4 separate regions of the Homo sapiens genome follow, and all the other regions are linked to region 1. Evidence: promoter capture Hi-C in 16 types of primary human blood cells and fetal thymus (Javierre and others, 2016). All regions are on one chromosome and are shown on one strand. The core of a region is centred on a gene start or on the middle of the fragment in contact, and the rest is flanking DNA. Distances in the headings are between cores, read along the strand shown. Region 1 holds the start of ATP1B2 (ATPase Na+/K+ transporting subunit beta 2). Region 2 holds the start of ALOXE3 (arachidonate epidermal lipoxygenase 3). Region 3 has its middle 35 kb from the start of CNTROB. Region 4 overlaps GUCY2D (guanylate cyclase 2D, retinal).

The links. Contacts are between HindIII fragments. The CHiCAGO score rates a contact against its expected background, and 5 or more counts as called.
Region 2: the fragment with the promoter of ALOXE3 here is called in contact with the fragment with the promoter of ATP1B2 in region 1 in 1 of 17 cell types (naive CD8 T cells); the score reaches 6.7 in naive CD8 T cells.
Region 3: a contact is called between a fragment that was not itself captured here and the fragment with the promoter of ATP1B2 in region 1, in 1 of 17 cell types (activated CD4 T cells). The highest score is 6.1, in activated CD4 T cells.
Region 4: a contact is called between a fragment that was not itself captured here and the fragment with the promoter of ATP1B2 in region 1, in 1 of 17 cell types (activated CD4 T cells). The highest score is 6.1, in activated CD4 T cells.

Annotation. Positions count from the first base shown.
Region 1 is chr17:7,648,891-7,652,307 of GRCh38, reverse strand. It overlaps ATP1B2 (ATPase Na+/K+ transporting subunit beta 2), which reads right to left and starts at 1,382. Exons shown (of 7, transcript NM_001678.5): 1 at 678-1,382. The coding sequence starts at 789. RefSeq lists enhancers at 812-1,454, 1,729-2,229, 2,230-2,730 and a silencer at 1,323-1,472. The HindIII fragment of the contact is 15,564 bases long and covers 1-3,417 here.
Region 2 is chr17:8,116,844-8,120,532 of GRCh38, reverse strand. ALOXE3 (arachidonate epidermal lipoxygenase 3) reads left to right here and starts at 2,019. Exons shown (of 16, transcript NM_021628.3): 1 at 2,019-2,047; 2 at 2,230-2,689; 3 at 3,553-3,689. The coding sequence starts at 2,543. TRK-TTT3-5 (tRNA-Lys (anticodon TTT) 3-5) reads right to left here and starts at 1,378; the gene lies at 1,306-1,378. TRQ-CTG1-5 (tRNA-Gln (anticodon CTG) 1-5) reads right to left here and starts at 781; the gene lies at 710-781. TRL-TAG1-1 (tRNA-Leu (anticodon TAG) 1-1) reads left to right here and starts at 138; the gene lies at 138-219. RefSeq lists silencers at 83-292, 663-752, 883-932 and enhancers at 1,453-1,552, 1,703-1,772, 1,853-1,932, 1,654-2,853. The HindIII fragment of the contact is 2,695 bases long and covers 707-3,401 here.
Region 3 is chr17:7,965,251-7,968,928 of GRCh38, reverse strand. No RefSeq gene overlaps it. Among named protein-coding and RNA genes, the nearest start is that of CNTROB, 35 kb to the right of the region's middle. RefSeq lists a silencer at 891-1,091. The HindIII fragment of the contact is 609 bases long and covers 2,025-2,633 here.
Region 4 is chr17:8,016,821-8,020,213 of GRCh38, reverse strand. It overlaps GUCY2D (guanylate cyclase 2D, retinal), which reads right to left. Exons shown (of 20, transcript NM_000180.4): 20 at 1-86. Among named protein-coding and RNA genes, the nearest start is that of GUCY2D, 16 kb to the right of the region's middle. RefSeq lists a silencer at 3,299-3,393. The HindIII fragment of the contact is 1,311 bases long and covers 1,342-2,652 here.

The DNA of each region.
Region 1 (3,417 bases), core at 133-2,632:
CAGCCTGGGGAGGCTTCCAAGTCATCCGACTGTCACAGACACCTGGCTGGCTGATGCACACAAATCACCACAGCGACCACTCCTCCCTCCGTCACCGACATGGGAGCAAAACCTGCAGCCTCGGTAAAACTCATACTATCAGCAGCCCCCCAACCCACAAAGCAGTCCCAGAAGGCTCCCAAGGCCAGGCGGTGGGATACAGACAACTTCCGCCGTGAAGAACCCCCCTAACACACCCCCCAAGACCCGCCCCCTCATGAACGTTCCCAGGGTCCAGGGGGTGGGCACGAGCTAAAAATAGACGGGGCTGCGGAGCTAGTGAGAGCCGGAGGGAGGGAAGGGGCGCTCTTTGGAGGTGGGGGACGCCCGTGTGGAGCGGACAGGCCCCGAGAGGGAGTGTGAGCGCCGGCGCGGACACGCAGGCGGAGCTGGCGACCCCCCGCCCGAGGGGGCTCCGCGGGGGGCGGGAAGGCGGCTGTGACCTACTTTCTCCGCCTCCGCACGGCCAGCCGGGGAGATTAGACTGGCGATTCGGCCCCCTCCCAGCCCAGAGCCCGGCAGGGAGGCTGGACGCCGGGGACCCGGGAGGGGAGCTGGGGCCGCGTCGGCGGGACCCTGCGCCCCCGAGGCGTCGCCCCGCGGCTTTCCCCCGCCCCTTGCGTGCCGGCCCTGCGTACCCCAGCTGGTCCCGGTGCGGCCCATAAACTGGTGCGTCCTCGGGTTCCACACGAACTCCTTCCACTCCTCAACCACCTGCCCGCAGCTCTTCTTCTCTTTCTGGATGACCATCTTGGTGGCGCGGGGCGAGTCCGGGCGCGGGGCGGGGGGTTGCGGAGAAGCGGGGGCGCCGCGCGCTGAAGCCCTCCACACACCCAAAAGCACGGGGAGCGAAGGCGGCGCGGGCAAAGGAGACCCCCCTCAGATATGCAGCTGCTGCAGATTCCGGGGTGCACGACCACGCGCTGCGGGGTGCTGGCAGCGCGGCGGAAGATGCACCGATCCTAGGCCCCCCAACTGCGATGAAAAGGGGTGCTGTCAGAGCAGGGGAGAATAACAAGAGGAAGGGGTATGAATGCAGCTTCACCCCCCACCAAACCGTCTAGAAACAAAACGAAATGGGGTGCAAAAACAGACGGCTACAAAAACCGAGCAGAACGCAGAAAAAAAGCGGGGTACAAAAAGGCAGAGAGAGGTGGGGGAGGGGGCCGCCCCGAAATCCAAGATGCAAAGAAGCTGTGGAACGAAGCTCAAGGCTCGCTCCGCCAAGCGGAGACCACTGCACCGGTGGTGGCTCAGCCGCGGGGGTGGGGCGGGGACGCGCAGCTGGGGGACAGCCAGGGATGGGGGGCCCCCCAGGCGGAGGCTCCGCTCCTCAGCAGTGCGAGGCCCGCGGTCGCCGAGCGCGGTCTTTATACTCTGCGGCTCTGGGGGTGCCCGCCCCCTTCCCACCCCCAGAAGCTCCGCCTCCTCGCCACTGGCCCAGGCGACCTCATACATATGTAAATATGGAGAGGTTGGGCCCGCCCCCCTGACTTCTCTTAGGGACCTAGCTGTCTCTCCATTACCCCCACCCCAGGTACTAGACTGGGACAGGGTGGGAGGAAGAGATAGAGGGCGTGTCCGGGCGGAGTAGAGGGAAAGATAACCCCAGAGAAACACAACGGCAGAGAGAGAAGCCGATATATGCTCAAAGGTGGGGGCCCCAGGCAGGGAGTTAGAAAGAGACTAAGATACAGATGCGGCGGAAGAGTCCGGGAGCAGATGGGGCAGAATGTCAGAGGAATAAAGAGCTAGAGATCAAGAAAGAGAGCGAAGAGACCAGCCGGGAGGCTGGCCGAGCCAGGAGGGAAGCTAGGACAGGCCCCGCAGAGATGGATAAAGGCCACCCCCAGAGGGACGTTCCCCTGTTGGGAGCCGCTACCAGTCCCCCAGACGCCTCCTTCTCCAATCTCACAGCCCCTGTCCACACCACCTGGCTCTGTCCACGTGCAGAGGCTTCCCCATCTTCCCATCACGTCTCCCTGAAGCCCTCTCAACACCACATTCCCAGTCCCCAGCACTGCCCTGAGATCCCAGCCCTGCAGCCAGGTCTACTTCGGTTCTCTGCCTCCTGGCACCCCCACCCCCACGTCGGAACTCACCTCCTTATGTGTCTACTTGGGTCAACAAACATTTATTGAGCACCTCTATAGACTGTGTGCTGTAGCCCTGGGGAGGCCAGAGAGGTTACACTGAAGCCACATCTCTCACGGGGCTCACAGTCTAGGGCGGGAGTACACTTGCTCTACATACCACATGTTAAGAATCATTATCTCAAGCCGGGCACGGTGGCTTATGCCTGTAATCCCAGCATTTTGGGAGGCCGAGGCGGGCAGATCACGAAGTCAGGAGTTCGAGACTAGCCTTGCCCACATGGTGAAACCCCGTCTCTACTTAAAAATGCAAAATTAGGCCAGGCGCGGTGGCTCACGCCAGTAATCCCAGCACTTTGGGAGGCCGAGGTGGGTGGATCACGAGGTCAGGAGATCGAGACCATCCTGGATAACACAGTGAAACCCCGTCCCTACTAAAAATACAAAAAAAAAAAATTAGCTGGGCGTCGTGGCGGGAGCTTGTAGTCCCAGCTACTTGGGAGGCTGAGGCAGGAGAATGGCATGAACCCGGGAGGCGGAGCTTGCAGTGAGCCGAGATCGCTCCACTGCACTCCAGCCTGGGCAACAGAGCTTCCGTCTCAATAAAAAAAAAAAAAAAAATTAGCTGGGCATGGTGGTGGGTGCCTGTAGTCCCAGCTACTCAGGAGGCTGAAGCAGGAGAATTGCTTGAACCCGGGAGGCGGAGCTTGCAGTGAGCTGAGATCACGCCATTGCACTCCAGCTTGGGCAATAGAGTGAGACTTCGTCTCAAAAAAAGAGAGAAAAAAAAAATCATTATCTCGGCCAGGCCCAGTGGCTCATGCCTGTAATCCCAGCTCTATAGGAGGCCGAGGCCAATGGATCACCTGAGCAAGGGAGTTCGAGACCAGAGGTCAGGAGTTCAAGACCAGCCTGGCCAACATGGTGAAACTGCGTCTCTACTAAAACTAAAAAAATTAGCCGGGTGCGGTGGTGGGAGCCTGTAATCCCAGCTACTCAGGAGGCTGAGGCAAGAGAATTGCTTGAACCTGGAAGGTGGAGGTTGCAGTGAGCCGAGATTGTGTCACTGCACTCCAGCCTGGACAAGAGCAAAACTCCATCTCAAAAAAATGGTATGCATTGAATGAATGAATGAATGAATGGGAGTTGGGGCTGGCCTCTGAAGGGTAGGTAGTCTTCCAGGACAAAGGAATGAAAGGCACAGAGGTGTGAAGTCAGGAGTAAGCACAGTCTACCCCAGGAGTGGCTGGCTTGGCTCCAGGAGAGAACTAGTCGGAGACTAGTG
Region 2 (3,689 bases), core at 770-3,269, 470 kb before region 1:
CACAGTCTCGATGGTTCTTCATTTCCAGTCTAAAAGATGTGGAAAAGGAGACGAATCAATTTGGCACTCTTAAGATTTGCCCCATTCCTTACTTCTAGTCTCTTAGGAGGACAACGGGGACAGTAAGTTTTCGTGCAGGTAGCGTGGCCGAGCGGTCTAAGGCGCTGGATTTAGGCTCCAGTCTCTTCGGAGGCGTGGGTTCGAATCCCACCGCTGCCAGGCTGGAGTTTTTCTGGTGGATTACGCACCTGCTACAGTTCTGTTAACAGTTCTGTGAGGTTACACCTATTTACATGCAGAAAGTAATTTTACGAATTCCCCTGGTAATGGTTTCACCATCATCTTCCGTGTTTGGTCTTCCAGAGAGATCATAGGCCTGCATCCATCCCAGAAGCTAAGACCTGATGGTAACTGCTGAAGCAATATTTCGTTTCTTCATAACATCTCTATTATTTCGTTTCTTCATAACATCTCTATTTTAACATGTTTTCAAATGTTAGCTCAACTTCCAACATATTTAAATAATTTATTGTACGTTCTCTTAACACTGTGTTATAGGACTCAATTATCCGGTAGGAAAAGCACAAATAATTGGTAGTGTCCTAGTTTACTTTTTTTTTTTGTCGTATTATCTTGGGTCATAGGAGTATCCCCTCTGTGAAAATCAATTAACAATATTCAACATGCTGATATTAAAAGAAAAGCTTCAAGGTTCCACCGAGATTTGAACTCGGATCGCTGGATTCAGAGTCCAGAGTGCTAACCATTACACCATGGAACCTCCCTCGTGGTGTCTTTCAAGATTGTGTACATTACTGGACATTCTATTTTGCGTGTCTTCCACACCCGTCACTTAAAACGAAAACAAAACAAAGTCTGCTGTTGGATATGGTAGACACCGTTATCGAGCACTTGAAATATATGAATTCAGATGTATTGCCAGCTTCTAAATACACATCTTCTTTTGAAGGAAGGCTTTGTACAAACAAAAAGACTTAAAATTTCATTAATATTTTTAGAATGTTGATTATATGTTAAAATAAGATTTTGGTATATTAGGGTAAGTAAAATAGATCCGTGAAATTAATTTCGCTTGCTTTTTATTCTTTGTAATGTGGCTACCAGAAAATGTAAATTCGATAATACGGCTCGCGTTTGTACTGTTTTAAAGTATGTTTATTACCCTCCACCGTCGTTTGCTGTATTTTGTGGAAATCAAGTTTCTGTATCACCTAGCTTTAAAAACTAGTAACTATTTTTGTTACCATTTTATGCGAAGTGCGGTACCCAAAAGCAAAGACATGCCGCCCGAACAGGGACTTGAACCCTGGACCCTCAGATTAAAAGTCTGATGCTCTACCGACTGAGCTATCCGGGCTCTTCACGAGAGCTTTACTTTTTGCTTATAAGAGGGTTCTCTATAGGAAAAGCCAGGCTTGTAGAACCGACAGAGGATTTTATCTGTGCAGCATAGAATATTTTGGCACAGATTTGGAAGCAGCGGGTGAAGCTCGCCTGCTGCTGATTGAGCTTTTTCTGCCTCCCGTTCTTAGAGCCCCCGCCGAGGCTGCGACGCAGGGACTGTACCATAGTAGAGGCTGGAACAGTGCGGCGCCGGAACCGGCCGCGCGGGGCCGCTGCGGGCTATGGGCTTCTCTGAGAGGTTCCTCCCCAGTCCCTAGTGGCCCAGATCCCGGACACCTGGGCTCCCGCCCAGGATCCTGCAGGCCCAGGGCGGTCCTGGAGCGGAAAGAATGCCACGCGGGGCATTCAGACCCTGTTTGCCGGCGCTGTATTTCGCTTTCCTGACCTGCCCTACTCCAGAGCAGAGAATGAGGTCGGGCGTGCCAAAGGCTGGGGACAAAGAGGGCCATGCGTGGGGGGATCGGTGTATGGGGTGACAGGGAGCTGTTCCTGACCATTTGACATGTGCTGGAATGCGTGTGCGACTCACCTGCGTGTGGCTGCAGTCACGTGTGATTTATGACCAAGTGCAACTCTCCACTGTTTAGTGATTCACACGGATGATTCACACGTAGGAATGCAGGTGCCCTGTGCTCATCTCTGCCTGGGAATGGGGAGGAACAGATCTTGGGGGACATTGGGGAGTGGGCGGACAAGCACTCCAGGGCATCAGTCCGGGCCGCTGACCAGGCGGAGGGCAGTGTCCCAATTATACAGGCGTTACCTCCTTTTCTCCATCTCAGCATCTGATCCCTCCCTCCGCAGTGGAACCCAGGCTCCTGATATCCATCTGGGTGAGCCAGCCAGAGGGACCGGCTGTGTCAGAGGCAAGCAAACAAGTATTAGAGTGCAAGACTGTGGGCGGAGAGAGGAAGCCCGAGCCGCCAGCAGGGAGCTTCGGAGAGAGAAAGCCCAGGAACATCCCAGAGAGAGCTGGGCCCATCCTCAGCCCTACCCAGCCCCGCAGCCCCTAGCCCTCCGCCCAGAAACCCAGCCCTGTCCGGCGTGCCGCTCTTCTCCTCCAGGCCGGCTGCTGCTGCGGCCAGCGTTGCCGGGGCATCCCTTCCTCCTTCCCATCATGGCAGTGTACCGCCTGTGTGTGACCACTGGTCCCTACCTGAGGGCCGGCACACTGGACAACATCTCTGTCACACTGGTGGGCACGTGTGGTGAAAGCCCCAAGCAGCGGCTAGATCGAATGGGCAGGGACTTCGCCCCTGGATCGGTGAGTACAAAGGAGACAGGGAAGCGCGACCTCAGAGGGGCAGGGGCCGCAGGCGGGAGGAGTATTCCTCCTGGACTCTTGAGATCCTGCTGAACTCAGGATACCGGCCCTGACCTCCTCACCTTCCCTATTGAGGTCCCTGTCTTTCCTGGAGATGATGAACTCCATCCAGGCAGGACTGTGGAGAGGAAGGAGCGTTGGACAGGGAGTAGAGGGACTTCCCCTGGCTCCTAAACTCCTCCCATAATTGACCGTGGGCTTTGGGCAAGTCGCTTCCCCTCTCTGAGCCTGGGTTTCCTCTTATCGAGGGGATCTGCCTGCCTCTGCCAGCCCCAGGTGGCCTCCACAAGAGTTCCCAGCCGGCCTAGGAAGCTAGTGAAATGCAGTGCCCACTGTGCTCGGGCACCTTTTTCTTTTCTTTTTGAGATGGAGTTTTGCTCTTGTTGCCCAGGCTGGAGGGCAGTGGTGTGATCTCAGGTCACTGCAACCTCCACCTCCCGGGTTTAAGCGATTCTCCTGCCTCAGCCTCCCAAGTAGCTGGGATTACAGGCGCCTGCCACGACGCCCGACTAATTTTTTGTATTTTTAGTAGAGAAGCGGTTTCATCGGGCAGGCTGGTCTCAAACTCCTGACCTCAGGTGATCCACCCGCCTCGGCCTCCCAAAGTGTTAGGATTACAGGCGTGAGCCACCTCTCCCGGCCCGGGGAAGCTTTTTCTAATTCATACAAAAGCCCGGTATGGGCTGGGAGCAGCTCAGGTTTGTATGCCCGAATAGGCTTAGGTGTAGATGCATCTTGCAAGGCGCAAGGACCGCCTTGGCAGTTCCCCGCCTCTCACCTGCTTGCTGTCTTGGTCCCCTCAGGTACAGAAGTACAAGGTGCGTTGCACAGCGGAGCTGGGTGAGCTCTTGCTGCTGCGTGTACACAAGGAGCGCTACGCTTTCTTCCGCAAGGACTCTTGGTACTGTAGCCGCATCTGTGTCACCGAACCGGATGGTAG
Region 3 (3,678 bases), core at 1,080-3,579, 320 kb before region 1:
GGCGTCAGAGCGAGACTCTGTCTCCAAAAAAAAAAAAGCCTGTAATCCCAGCACTTTGGGAGGCCAAGGGGAGAAGATTGCTTGAGTCCAGGACTTCGAGACCAGCCTGGGCAATATACTGAGACCCCTAACTATACAAAAATTGTAAAAATTAGCCGGGCATGGTGATGCACGCCTGTTGTCCCGGCTGTGGGGGAATTTGGGGGGAGCTGAGACAGAAGGATAGCTTGAGCCGGGAGGTTGAGGCTGGAGTGATCCGTGAACTGCACTCCAGCCTGGGCAACAGAATGAGACTCTGTTTCAAGAAAAAAAGAAAAGAAAAGAAAAAATAATAAACAAGTAAATAAATAAAAACTATTGGGCCAGGTGCGGTGGCTCACGCCTGTAATCCCAGCACTTTGGGAGGCGGAGGCAAGCAGATCACCTGAGGTCGGGAGTTCGAGACCACTGACCAACATGGAGAAACCCCATCTCCATCAATAATACAAAAATTAGCCTTGCGTGGTGGCGCATGCCTGTAATCCCAGCTACTCAGGAATCTGAGGCAGGAGAATCGCTTGAACACAGGAGGTGGAGGTTGTGGTGAGGCGAGATCACATCATTGCACTCCAGCCTGGGCAACAAGAGGGAAACTCCATCTCAGAACAAAACAAAAAACAAAGCAAACAAACAAACAAAAAAACAACTATCCCTCGTTGGCCTGGTTCTGTCTCAAGTAGTTTTGCAACTCATGTAAGTGCAGTAGATAGTCTCCAAAGGTGGCTACTATTTGAGATAGGAAATATCAACACTTATGATGTTTCTGACACCAAAATATGTGTGTGTGTGTGTGTGTGTTGGAGTGAGAGGTCCCCACACATCAAGCAGTTCTGCAGCAGATACTAGCTGGGTGTCAATAATTCAATTCAATTCTGACACTATCCACTTGAAGATAGCATCAGATCCCAGACTGTCCAGCGGAGTTGAGGCTTCAGATTGGCTGACACTGCAAATCCTGAGTGAGAGTTATCAGGTTAAGTCCAGCAACCCACAGAACCATGAGCAACAATCACATATTTTTGCTGAAGCCACGAAGTTTTGGGGTGGTTTGTCACATAGCAATACATAGAGCAATATGTTATCCTGAGGCCAGTCACCTGACAACTGCCTGAAACCAGAGGTAATGGTTAGCAAAAACTTCTGTAACCAAATCTAGTGCTGTATACCAGGAACTAGTGATTTGTTTTATTACCTAAATTTAAAACCCCTTAATATGCCTCCCAGTTACCTGGTTCAAGACACCAGAAAAGAAAATGAGAGGAGGGTCCGGGTGCGGTGGCTCACGCCTGTAATCCCAGCACTTTGGGAGGCCGAGGCGAGTGGATCAAGAGGTCAGGGGTTCGAGACCAGCCTGACCAACATAGTGAAACCCCGTCTCTATTAAAAATACAAAAAAAATTTAGCCGGGCGTGGTGGCAGGCGCTTATAGTCGCAGCTACTCGGGAGGCTGAGGCAGGAGAATGGTGTGAACCCGGGAGGCGGAGGTTGCAGTGAGCCAAGTCGTGCCACTGCACTCCAGCCTGGGCGACAGACTGAGACTCCGTCTCAAAGAAGAAAAAAAAAAGAAAAAGAAAATGAGGGGAGGAGAAGAACAATGGAAAAATGGGAACAGGCTGGGCCCAGTGGCTCACACCTGTAGTCCCAGCACTTTAGGAGCCCGAGGCAGGTGGATCACCTGAGGTCAGAGTTCAAGACCACCCTGGCCAATATGGCAAAACCCTGTCTCTACTAAGAATACAAAAATTAGCCTGGCATGGTGGCGCATGCCTGTAATCCCAGCTACTCAGGAGGCTGAGGCAGGAGAATCGCTTGAACATGGGAGGCGGAGGTTGCAGTGAGCCAAGATTGCACCACTGCACTCCAGTCTGGACAACAGAGCAAGACTCTTTCTCAAAAAAACAAAACAAAACAAAACAAAAACAGAAGAAGAAGAAGAGTAGGAACAGCATAACAACATGAAAGCCCGAAAAATAAATACCTAAGCTTTCTTAAACAATACTTTACATCTATACTTACGTGATGTACCTCTATCATTAGTCATTGTGAATGACTGATGTTTATAAGTGACAGAAAAACAGAAATGAAAGACAATTCCAAATAACTGCAAATGTTATAATTAGATTACAAAAGAAATGCCTTTTTTTTTTTCTTTTTGAGGCAGAGTCTGTCTCTGTTGCTCAAGCTGGAGTTCCGTGGCACGATCTCGGATCATTGCTACCTCCGCCTCCTGGGTTCAAGCGATTTTCCTGCCTCAGCCTCCCAAGTAGCTGGGATTACAGGTGTATGCCACCATGCCCAGCTAATTTTTGTATTTTTAGTGGAGACAGGGCTTCACCATGTTGGCCAGGCTCATCTCGAACTCCTGACGTCAGGTGATCCACCTGAGGAGGCCTCAGCCTCCCAAAGTGCTAGGATTACAGGCGTGAGCGACCGTGCCTGGCCGAAATGCCTTATTTTAAACACTTAAGAAAAATAAAGTACATGTAATGTCAAAAAAAATTCCATTTATAAAAGCGATTAAAAAATCTTTAAAATATCTGAGAAAAGATTAACACAAAATGTTCAGGACTTATAAATTGTAAAATCATGAAGCTTTAAGAATAAAAACAGAAAGGGATGCATGGAAAGAAAGAACAAAAATGAGAAATGCACTATTATCAAGAGGAAAATTGTCCTAAATTAATTTGTATTATATCTTGTTTCTTTGATGCCTTCATTTATTATCTCTAGTAATTTTGAGGTGCTTTTCATTTCATTTGCATAACATGATCATTTTATTTCTTCCTTTTCTTTATGTATATCTTTCTTTCTCTTCTCAAATAGCTTTGTCAGAATTTTTAGAGCTACGTTGAATAGTAGTAATAAGATATCCTTGTCTTGTTCCTATTTTAAAGAGGAATAATTCATGTTCTCCATTAAGTGTAATTTTGACTTTTGGTTTTCAATAGAGCCTTTTTGTCATGTTAAAGAGGCAACCTTTTATTGCTTTTAGGGAGAGTTTCCATGAAGAATTCCCTCTGGCATTTGTGGAAATAATTATATGAATTTTTTCCAATAATATTATTGGTTATGTGGAAAATTGAGCTTTAGTGGGGGATGTTTATAAGTGACAGAAAAACAAAAATGAAAGACCATTTGAAATAAGTTCAAAAACAGAATTGGTTAAAAAGTACATGTTCTTTTTTTCTTCTTTTTTGAGACAGGGTCTTACTCTGTCACCCAGGGTGGACTGCAGTGGCATGATGATAGCACTGATCTCAATCTCCCGAGCTCAAGCAATCCTCCCGCCTCAGTTTCCAGAGTAGCTGGGACTATTTTTAGTACAGATGAGGTCTGCTATGTTGCCCAGGTATGGAACTCCAGAGCTCAATCGATTCTTGCGCCTCAGCCTCTCACACTTTTGGGATTACAGGTGTGAGCTACCACACCTTTAAAATTCCTTTAAAAATTATACTTTATTAAAATTTATACTATATTCTGATTGCTAAAATTTTATTTAGAATGTTTGCATATCTACTAATTTATGAGATTACCATGTAAACTATTTTTTATGCTGTTTCATTAGGTGTGATGATAAAAATCTGTTTCATCAAAGGAAATGAGACAATTTATTTAAAAGGTAATATAGGCCAGGTGTGG
Region 4 (3,393 bases), core at 748-3,247, 370 kb before region 1:
CCCTGCCAAGGAGCAGTTCACCCCACCTCCTCAAAGGGGGGTGCCTGGGGTCCACTGCAGATGGGACAGGGAGCAGGGCCCAGACCCTAAGGAGAAGCACAAAAAAAAAAAAAAAAAAAAAAAAGGCGCCAGGTGAGCCCCGGGACACGCTGTAGAGTCTCTGCCGTGGGATTGAAGCAGCAGCTATGAGAGGTCCCTGCTTTGGCCATCACTGCTCTGCCAGCTACAGAGCCATCTCCAAGGCAAGGACAACCGCAAGTGTGGGCTCCTGGCGCAGGCCAGCTGGCAGAGGTAGTGTAAACACATCTGAAGGTGGGGGATGCCCAGTGACCAAGCCAGGCCCCGGTGCTCTCATGCGCTGGGAGTTGCCCAGGCCACAGGAACAGGGTGGGGAGGACTTGAGTCAGCAGAGCCCTGAGACTGGATAACCGACTGGGTCCAGGAAATAAGATTTCCAGAGAAATGGTGGAAACTGCAGAGAAAGGCAGACAGAGACTGCCAGGCAGAAAGGGGACTGTGGGGACACAAAGACAGGAGAATAGAGCAGAAAGGGAGGCAGGAACAGAGAAAGGAGAGGCTGAGGCACAGAGAGGAGGCTGAGGCTTCATCTTTTGCCTTCTCTTCTCCCACTAGATCTGTGAACTCTGGGGTGGGGGTTCCCCAAGTTCTTCTAGCTGGGGAGGGGTCAGGGCTCTTCTATCACATCTGGTCACTTGAGCTTGAGGCCAGCCTGGGAAGGAGGCTGAGTGAAGGTGGGAAGGAACTGGCTCAGCCCTGCCCACTCCACTTCTACCTTAAACTGGGTCTGCCCTCTGGCTCATCCGCCTCTGCTTCCGGGAGGAGCCCTGCCTAAGCCTGTCCCAGCTAATCCCTCTGCACCTAATCCTGGACTCTTCCTTGAGGCAGCCGAAATCACACACCATTAACTACTCCAGGCCCTTGCAGGCAGGGAGAGAGGGAAGGAAGGGGAAGGGCTGCAGGGTCGGGTACGGGAGGGAAGAGACAGGAGGCTGAGAGCTCTATCCACACAGTCAGGTCCAAGGCCAGAGATGTGAATCTGCGCTTCAATCCCTGGGACCTAAGTACAGAGAAAATCTTAAGGAAAATCTTCAAGAATGTAAATAACTTTTAAAAATGTGTGTGTGTGCATGCCCGGGTTTTGTTTTGTTTTTAATCTTTAATTCATCGTATTTAAATTCAATTTAAAATGTTTTTAAAATTGCACTAAATTGCTCTCTGTAGCAACATCACCTTCGGTAACCAGAACTTACAAGTGCTGGATTCTCGATGTTTGATACATTCTTCCTTCACCTTTAGGAAGGAGGGGAATACCACTAAGCTTGTGGAAGTCATGAATCAGTTTAAAAAAAAAAAAAAGAAGGCAAAGTCCCGTCCAGGAGCCCCTGTAATCCTAATACCTGCTAAGGAGTCCTAAGCTCAATGTCTACAGGCACCAGGCAGGAATATAAAGGAATGTTCAAAAAATCTTGGTGTCTCGGAGTCTGTGGGGAGTGGCGACATCTGGATAAAGGGGACTGTTGCTGTTTAGCTGCAGCAGAATGTGGTTAAGTGGTGACACAAGCACCATGTGGGGCTTCTGATTTCAAGAGAAGGGGGAAATCTGCTATACATTTTTAAAATGTGGAAGCTGTTGATTTTTAAATGTTAGCTCAAAACAAAACACTCTATAGGCCAAACAAAAGAAATTTGGTGGCTAGTTTGTAGCCTGGCTTTATGAGATCTTAGAGATTCTAAGATTTAAAGATCTTAGGGTGATTTAGTTCTATGATTCAGAAACTTTAATGAGCGTGTCAATATTTTGTAGGAACTTGTTAAAATGCAGATCCAGACTCAGCAGGTCTGGGGTGGGGCCCTGAGATCCTTCATTTCTAATGAGCTCACAGGCAGTGCCGACCCTGGCCCACCAACCACACTTGGTGTAGTGAAGGTTCAGTTCCGGAATTCCCTCTCACTGTCGTATCCCTGGTCAATGATGTCTCCAGTTCTGCCTTCACACCTCCAGGGACTGGACACTCACTACCTCTGGTGGCAGCCTAGGTGGTTTCCTAGCCTGCTGCAAACTTCTTCCAGGGTCTGTAGCAATGGTGACAGACACCAAGAGTCAAATGTGCCAAGGCCCAGGCTCTGGAAGGTCAGAGTTTCACAAAGGCAACTTCAACTGGGGACTTGCCAGGACAGGGCATTGATAATTGCTGCAAAGGTCAGGCGCGGTGTCTCACACCTGTAATCCCAGCACTTTGGGAGGCCAAGGTGGGCAGATCACTTGATGTCAGTTCAAGACCACCCTGGGCAACATGCTGAAACCCCATCTCTACTAAAATCACACAAAAAAATTACCCGGGCGTGGTGGCGGGTGCCTGTAATCCCAGCTACTCGGCAGGCTGAGGTAGGAGAATCACTTGAACCTGAGAGGAGGAGGTTGCAATGAGTCGAGATTGTGTCACTGCACTGCACTCCAGCCTGGGTGACAAAGTGAGACTCAAAAAAAAAGAAAAAATTCTAAGCAGAGAGGATTTTCTGTCCAACTGCTTGCTCAGCAGCTCCTAGTTAAACAGAGAATGCCGCTCTTTGGATGTTCTGGTCAGTCAAGGTGTGGCACAATTTCCTTTCCTCAAAGCATTGAAGCAAGCTTTTCTCTGCACTTGGGCAAGTTCCCTGATTATACCCACAGGAGAAGCAGCCAGTTTCTGACTGGTGGGAGATGGAGATAGGAATGAAGCTTGAGGCTAAACAGGAGCCCTTGCCCCCTCAGGCCATGTGACAAACCCTGCTCTGGTGGAACAGAACTCCACTTCCTCTGGGGTCGGGCATCAATCCCAGATCCTCCTTCCTGGGTCCCTGAGAGACACTGGGAAGCGGAGAATCCCTGACCCTCACATCCCCTGCTGGACTCAGGGCTCCTGGGGGTGAGGGCCACAAGCCACCCAGCTGTCAGGTGCACAGGGGCCTTGGGAACCACTTAGGCCACCCCCCATTTTGCCACTGAAGGGATCACAGCAGAGCATGCGTGACACTTTCCCAAGGTCACATGGCTGGTTTTGCAACCAGCTCTTGTAAAAGGCCCAAAATCCTTTGAGGCAGAGCTGGGCAGAGTCCACCAGCATTAGACAGACTTCCAGTCACCTATAGCAGCAACTTTCAGGAAAAGGACCTTCCAGAACAATCCTGAAGAAAAGAGGGGTATCTCAGAGGGGAGTCGAGGAAAGGGGTCATGGGGGTTCACCTAGGAAGGAGCGGGTCACGGGTCAGTTTCTTGCAGGAGGGGAGTGGGCACGGCTTCTGCTTTCACATTGTTCTCTGGTGACTGCTGCCCCCTAGAGTTGTCTCTTGTGCAGTGCACAGCCTGTGAGGCTTCTGCGGAAGCCAGGTTTA